Regions from separate parts of the Homo sapiens genome. Here region 1 is linked to region 2. Evidence: promoter capture Hi-C in human tissues and cell types (Jung and others, 2019). All regions are on one chromosome and are shown on one strand. The core of a region is centred on a gene start or on the middle of the fragment in contact, and the rest is flanking DNA. Distances in the headings are between cores, read along the strand shown. Region 1 has its middle 47 kb from the start of SULT1E1. Region 2 holds the start of SULT1E1 (sulfotransferase family 1E member 1).

Region 1 (4,276 bases), core at 1,570-4,069, 48 kb after region 2:
ATATATTTCAATCTCTTATTTTATAAATGAAGAAATTGAGAAGCAAGAGGTTTTTCGTGTTTCTTTCCTCTCTTTAACTTTTACACAAGGTATTCATTATCTCTCCAAGACTTCACTTACCTTAAACTTGTTTCTTTAACCTTAACCTTTTGTCATTAATTTCTTTGCTAGACCCTGCCCCACCCCAATGCGCATTTTCTCTCACACTTGTGGTCTGTTATAGATAATTTAGATAGAATAATTCATTGGTCCACCTATAATTTAAGGGAGGGAAGTATTGATTAGGCCACCCTTGATTTTATAGTTAAGAAGATCCGTGCAGTTACAGAACTTGTTTAAGTTCCCGCTGCAATGAATTGATGTTGTTCCCGGACCAAACTGAGGGTCGAGATGCTTATTCTCATGGCCCAATAACCAGATGCAGATAAACTGAGAGAGAAGGGAGTTTTTATTTCTGTAACCGATTACAGGGAGAAGGTCTGGAGATTATTGCCAGATCGACTCAAAATCACAGTTTTTCCAGAGCTTATACACCTTCTAAGCTACATGTCTACATGTAAGTGCGAATTTATCTCAAGGCATAAGTGATTAACTTCTTTTAATCTATAACTAAGATCTGAGTCCTGAAGACGTTCCTTTGCAGTCTCAGTAAATTTACTTAATCTAAATGGGTCCCGGTGCTTGGGTGATTATCCTTGTCTCTTGCTAAATCATGGAGGTTTAGGGAGTTCCTTCAGACCCCCAATAAACTTGTTTGTGAAGGCCTGAGGGCTTTCTTTCAGACCCCCAATAAAGCTTGTTTAATCTTAAATGGGTCCTGTTAAGAATGCCTTCCTTATCTTGTCATGCTTCAAGGCCCAGGAAAGGCCTAGCCAAAACTCTTGGTAGGCCTTTGTTACATTCCAGCCTTTGTATAAGGGCACTGCCTCTATGAACTTTTAATATCTAAATTAACCACTCAGTCAGTGCTGAAACAGTTGTTATGGAGGCCTGTGTTAGCAATACCTGCCTGACACAATGGCACTGCAATTAAGGCACTTTTCACCTGACTCCAAAGTTCAGTAAATTTATTATGTATCTCAGAAAATTTTGCCTGAGGAAATGCTATAAAAGTAATTTTGCCAATAAAAAGTGCTAGCCTTATGTAATAAATGAACAGTACAAAATCCATAGTATTAAAATCTAATGCTGCTGGAGCTAGAGTGATGATAATACTACTAAAATATTAACCTATTGTTTGATTTGATTGATACTACACTTTGGTCAATATCTAGTTTCCTCAAAATGGACAATGAGCAGCGTGTCTTCAGAAGGGAGTTAGTGGATGTTCAGGGGATTCCCCTTTTCTAGAGCATTGCTGAAGAGTGGTTTCAAGTAGAATTGTTTGAGGCCTGACCAGATGATATTCTGATCTCTACCTATCCCAAATCTGGAAGACATTTTCATTTGTTTGTACTCAATGATTTGATAGTGATCCATATGTGTAAACCCACTGATTTACAGATTATTAGTCAGGTCTAACTTGAAATTATTAAACATTTTTTGAGGAAACCCTGTGGTGGTTGCTGTGAGAGTGTCATCTTAAGTTAGACTAATTTACTTCCTATTCTGAAAGGTTACCAATTGAATAAAGAATATATCTGAGAGAAAAATTAATGTCGTTTTCTTGTTTTTCTTTTTAAATTCAAATAGAAATTATTAAAACTGTATATATATATGTTTTGGATACATTAGAATATGTATATTCCATTATATACACACACATATCAGATATATTGGAATATACATATTCTATACATTTTGATATTTAAATATTTTGTTTGTATATTTAAACAACTGCTGATTTCAGTATACAATCTCAGAAAAACTTAAGATGACTTATTAAGAATCAACAATTTTTATTTCTCCATATCTGCTATGACAGAATCTTCTGATTTACCCAGTGATAGTCGTGCAGAGATATATCACAGATGAGGCTCTTTCTAGCCTTTTGTTCAGTTAAATTAATTTAGTCCACAATTAATCAACTGTCCCATAATTACCAAACCCCCTAAAGGCAAATTTCCTTTATATTCCTATTTAATTTCTTAAAGAAATACATTTCAAGTAAACATATTGTGTACTGATTATTTTATATTATGTATATCAAAATTATCAAAAATATCAAAATTATTTTAAAGTAATGTGTAACAAGTCTCAGGAGGAAAGCCCTGAATTTGAGGGATGTTAATCTGCCAAAATTGTGAACCTGTATGAGAACAAAGAGCTTCTTCTAGGAAGTAAACAATGCACAATACAGATTTTGGTACATGTAAAAAACTAACTTGTTTTGACAAAGCATCTTTATTTTCTTACTACTTACCTTGCTTTCTGAGTAGTTCACCAAACCCAAATTGTTTAAGACTAAAACCGCATTTCATTTCATTGTTGAAATAAGTGTTTAGAGAAGGGAAGTCAGTTACTGAGAATGTACACGTCCTTTTGTTTTTGCTATTTTTGGATATATTCAAAAGAAGAAAACCATTAAGATAATCTTTGAAAGGTACCATTATACAAATAGTTCATCTACAAGATACTCATTGAAGCTAAACTTTTTCTAGTATAGTAAAAGCTAAAATGGCTACACATAGTTTATTTTTTATTTTTATTTTATTTTTCTCTGTGAACTCTGCAGAGAAGTATACACATAGTTTAACATTCTTTTTCGTAGGTTTTTGTCATTGTTTCCTTTACACATGGGTGTGAACATGTCTTAAAGTTTTAAAATTATTAATATATTAGTGCCTTATTAACATTGTTACAAAAGGTACAAGTTAACTATCTCCTTAGGTGAGCTAAACCATGTGCTATTTTTTTTCTCTACAAAGTCCACAGACTTTTTCATTACAAAGCATACAAAACAGCTAAATTGGTATTTCTTTCAGTCAGACTTCAAGGGCCGCAATTTAAAACTTTCCCCAATAAGAGATAAAATGAGTTACATTGTACTTTGAAATTTAGGTCTCTCTCCTTCTCTCTCTTTTAACTCATGAATCGTTGCTTAAGCCTAAACCAGATCAAGCAGCAAAATGTTCAACGTTGGTACTGATTTGGCTCATCTGTTTTTTAGTACTAAATCTGTGATAGGATTGGGGAGATTGCCTAGTACAGGTACTCATGATTTGGGGACAAGAAGGAGGAAGAGTTGACCACAAGAAAAGACCAAAAAGGGGGCCTAATGTGCTGTAGTATCTGGGTGCAATCCAAATGTGTATCTACATATAGATCATTATTTAAAAATGTTGTCGTGTGCATGGCTTAATCAAATGATTAACTAATTAACTTAATATTTTAGTTACTGCCTCCTATTATTTAATTTATCATTATACCTTTGGTAAAGAGGAAGAAAATGGGAACAGTTAAGGAGATACTTATTTCCTATGTCTTATATTTCTTTTTTTTTAGCAGTGCCTCAATAATCTGACTGTTGAATGTACAATTAAGTATACCATAGGCACATATGATTTAGATACATTTCTCAAATAACTGGTGAGACACAATATCATAATGGTCAGAGTATCTTGATCCACTCTACTCAATCAGAATCTATTGTCTTTTTTTTGTGAGTGGCACACTGGTCACTGCATGGAAAATTGCCAAGATTTTTTCTTTTCCTTCTTTACCCTTTCACCAAATCTAGAACATTTTTACCTGAAATGCAATTCAATTCTAATAAACTTTTTGATATTAGTAGGAAATTTACAAACTGATAGACATTGAAGTTGGCCACTTCCTCCACCCATTTTACCCCAGAGAGTACGTTATCATTACTCACAACCTGTCTGTTTAATACTTCCTCTTTTACCTCCTTTTTGGGTCTTATTTGTATGATATTTTAATCACATTTTACACACACACAAAAATTATATGTATGTTCAAGATAAATAAGAGCCTGGACAACACAGTGAGGCCCCTTTCCTACAAACAATTAAAAAGTTTACCTGGGAGTGATGGTGCACAACTTAGTCCCAACTACTCAGAAAGCTGAGATGGGAGAATTGCTTGAGTCCAGGAGGCCAAGGCTACAGTGAGCCATGATTCTGCCACTGCACTCCAGCCTGGGCAACAGAGTGAGACCCTATGTCAAAAAACAAAAACAAAAGATAGATAAGGATGGTTCCTAGGAAAGGGGAGAAGAAAGGGAGTGGAAATAAAGAATACATTTTTGTTTTAGATATTGTTACACAACTTCTCTACAGCCACTGATTATCTTATACTCTTTTTGACAGAAAAGTTT
Region 2 (4,193 bases), core at 1,463-3,962:
TAGTCACCAAAAAAGATGGAGAAGTCTTGAATACATATAGTTAGGCCAAAGAAGCTAATCTGAAAATGTTGCATACTGTTTGACTCCACCTACGTGACATTGTGGAAAAGGCAAAACTACAGACAATAAAAAGATCAGTCATTGCTAGGATTTCAGAGTAGGGAAGGCAGGATGAATAGGTTTAGAACGAGGGATTTTTAGGGCAGTGAAACTGTTCTGTATGGTATTGTATTGACAAACTTGTGGCAATATGCATTTATCAAAAACTATAGAATTGTATACAACAGAGAGTAAATCCTAACGTAAACCATGGACTTTAGTTAATGCTGATGTATCAACACTGTTTTTTGTTTGTTTGTTTGTTTTTTGGGTTTTTTTTGAGAATTAGTCTGGCTCTGTTGCCCAGGATGGAGGGCAGTGGCACCATCTCGGCTCACTGCAACCTCTGCGTCCTGGGTTCAAGAGATTCTCCTGCCTCAGCTTCCCAAGTAATGGGGATTACAGGTTAACTTTGACAAAGGCTCAGTTAAACATGCAACTTATTTTCACATTATTAATATTAAAATCTTGCTATTTATAAAAAAGACTCTATAGGACTTTTAATCTTGATCCAGAGAAAGTGTGTGCTACAGAAAAAGCCCAATAGTCACAAAAAAGCCACAGTAATTGTTTTGGGAACTCTGTCACACAGAAGTGCCAGCTTTACACTTGTTTTCAGTGTTTCAGAGTATAACAGCAGTATGTCTGTCTGCATATCTGCCCACATTCTTTTTGTTTGACATTATTATAATACTTAATAAATGTACATATTTTCAAGATATCTGCCCAAATTCTGAGGGTCAAGATAAACATTAAAAACCGGTCCTTATCTGAGATCCATTTTTTTTTTTGACATTGACTCAAACATTTTGTAACTCAGTCTGTACCCATTACTCATGGAGAAGAATGAGGTTTCAGGGCCATCTTGCCTGTTGTTTTGTTTTTATCAGTAAGTGAATTCTTAACATTAGAAAGATTTTCTAAGAATAAATGTGTATTGAACATCTGTGGTTGCCAGAATTACATGAGTTAGGAGCATTTGTGACATCCCTGCAACCAATTGTTTACAAGTGAAAAACAGACAGATGTATTGAGGTTAAATCTGTTTATATTAGCTTGTGCTCATTTTCTGATTTTTTTGGACTAAAAAATGTTTTCGCTAAACAATAAAGGAAACTTCATAGATTCTTGTCATTAAAAAAATAAAGTGAAGCTATGCTGCAAGGTTAAAAATTATATTCTGTATTAAATTTGTATATATATACTTAATTTTTAAAGGTACATAGTAGGCATATGAATGAGTAAATTTGTACATTTAATGATTGTTTTTCAACACATATTTTATTTAACTCAAATAATATGACAGACTGCATAAAACAAAGTAAAATGAAAATCTAAATTTGGGTCCCTGGTTACTCCTTTTCTACCTTAATTTTCTATTATGAAAAGCCCCATTTTTCAGAAACCACTTAACACCTCTTATTTTGCATAAGGCTAGATATTGCTTTCTATAACAACTATAGCCCCCTTAACTTCTTATATTTCTTGAATAAATCAGCCACTTTTATTCAGTAAATACATATTCAATGCCTAGCCTACTAGATGCCAGAAAAAAATGCTAATTACAGAGTAAGACCCTGTTTTCAAGCTATTTATAATTTAAAAAGTACTCTGGACAAGCAAACATTGATTTACAACACAGTAAAATAAATACTAGTTAGGAGAAAGTTCAAAGTTTAAAAGTCACTAAGAGAAACATAGAGTCTTGTAAGAGTGAGCCTCTCAAAGGAAATGTAATCTAACAGTAATTAATAGAGAAATAAGAAATAACAGGGTTGGAGGTGTTGATGGGGTGGAGCAAAGGATAATTTTCTTAAGTGACAGAGTAGGTGCAGAAAAATGAAAAGAAAGGTAATGCATTTGTGGATTCCACAAACCCTTGGCCATTTATTTTTCTAATTCTCTTGTGTAAATTCCAAGTGTTGGTAGCTATCATTACCTGAAAAATTCACAGTATGCTATTTTGTGGTTGGGAGCAGAGAGAAGTCAGGTTTCTAAAATAATAATCGAAAGGTGAGTGATGTTTACATTCTTTCTTTAGCTGTCATCTGCTTTTTAAAATTTTCAGGTCTGCTTAAGAGTTAAAGGCAAAGAGTTTAAATAGGTGTTTTCCAATTGACATGTTAAGATACAACCCAATGACTTCTTTGGCAGGTCTTAATAAACTGAGCTAGGTCTGATTGAGGGTCCTTGCTGTCTTATTTCTTTCCTCATTGGCTTCTCTTTCTTCACTCCAATAAGTTTATTCTTTTGAAAGTTAACCATAGTCATGCTATTATTTGTCAATGAGTGAATAAGGGATTCTCCCTTCCCAGTCTCTCTTCCCAGGCCTCTTCTTTCTCATCTTTTCCTTTTCTCCCTCCTTCTTCCCCAACCCCTGACGGCAGACTTGGGAATTTGAATATGAGCCAAATAATTAAAAAAATAACAGCAGGATATTTCTACATCTCCATGAATGAACATGACTCTGTGTGGTTACTGCAGCTGCAGGTATGCATTTACATCTACATTAACTATTGCATCATGGACTTCATGAAGCCAAGCCCCCAAATTAATCTCCACCTCCTTCTCTGGCATTCAGGATATAAACTCACCAGAAACATTCCAAATGCAGAAGTGGTTCTCATCTTTTTTTGCAGCTTAAGATCTGCCTTGGTATTTGAAGAGATATAAACTAGATCAATTTCTTTCACAGGATCAACTAAACAGGTTGTACTTTTTTATTATTAATATCAATACTTAGATTTTAGATATATAAAATATAGAATGAAAATTATGTATTACAAAGCTCTTAAAAATAAAATATACAAAGACCAAAGTCTTGATTGATACTTTAGTTAATTAATGATGTGAAGCATTTAAAACCTTTTAAAATAATTTGTTGTTAAAAATAATATTTTACATTTATGTAGTATTTTGTTGCTTATTGCTTTAATGTAAAATTACAGTACCATTGCTATCTTAAAAGTGCTGAATGCTGGACGTGTTCTCCATTTTACCAATGAGAAAATAAAGCAAGCAGGGTAGAAGGAGGTAGAATAGAGATTGACTTTTAGTTTTGTGTTCCTGTGATAAGGGGTCTTGCAAATAGGGGCATTACTTTCATGTAAGAAACTTCAGATAAATATGACAGAAATCCAAAGTCCTTGGTAAATAATTAATATGTAGGTCATTGACATATATTGCCTTTTAAATCTGTGAATCCTTACTTAGTAGAAACTAGAGAGCTTCTTGATCTAATAATTGAACTTAACAAATATTTCTGAACATCTACTTTGTGTCATAGTGCTGGAGATTGGGATAGAAACATGTACAAAAGTCACTTTGCCCTCATACAGGTAAATCTAAGAAAGTAGGGACTATGAGAACCCTATGTATCTATATCCACCATAGTATTCTAGCACTGACTACAGGGCCTAGGAAAAGGGTAGGCATTCACATAGGGAGTATTTGCTGGATAAAAGGCAGGTTGGAAGATGCAGGAGGGGAGTATGCAGAAAGAAAGGAAGAAAGAGAGGAAGGAGAGCGGGAAGGAAAAACACTTTCTGAGTTTAATTGAATTTATAAGTCACAATTTTAACAACTTTTTTGATGTTTATTTCTGAACAACTGACCTACATACTCAGAATAAAAAATTGACAATTTCTAACTGAAATAGATCTTTTGAGAAAATGGGGATCACATAGGAAGTAAATCCATACATTGTAATATGAGACAATTTACCAAAAGGAATAGAATGAGAAAAGATATTTTATTACATGCCACCTACTTTGCCTCTCAGACCAAAATTGACTATGAAGGAGTAGCTGGAAGTCAGCCAACCACTTAATGATAAATCTACCACTCCCAGCTGACTATAAGCCAATTCTTATAAACTTGGCTGAACACCAAGAAAGTAATTCACATGAGTAAGCAAACCAATAGGCAGGACAAATCGTGGTGCATTTTATACACATTTCTTCTAGTGAAAGATCTATTTTCTGAGACTAAGGAGAAGGCTTGGGGAACAAGTGATTTATTGATAAGGCTAATATGCATTTTGGAAATAGAAATCTCATATTTTTGGTGACATTACATCTGATATGATGTAGAGG

What was found. The method cuts DNA at HindIII sites, captures the fragments that hold promoters and counts their contacts. A contact is called where the count stands out against the background at its distance.
Region 1: a contact is called between a fragment that was not itself captured here and the fragment with the promoter of SULT1E1 in region 2, in 1 of the 25 tissues and cell types used here (small bowel).

The regions. Positions count from the first base shown.
Region 1 is chr4:69,810,897-69,815,172 of GRCh38, reverse strand. It overlaps the pseudogene SULT1D1P. Among named protein-coding and RNA genes, the nearest start is that of SULT1E1, 47 kb to the left of the region's middle. The HindIII fragment of the contact is 5,108 bases long and covers 266-4,276 here.
Region 2 is chr4:69,858,664-69,862,856 of GRCh38, reverse strand. SULT1E1 (sulfotransferase family 1E member 1) reads left to right here and starts at 2,712. Exons shown (of 8, transcript NM_005420.3): 1 at 2,712-2,808. The HindIII fragment of the contact is 19,346 bases long and covers 1-4,193 here.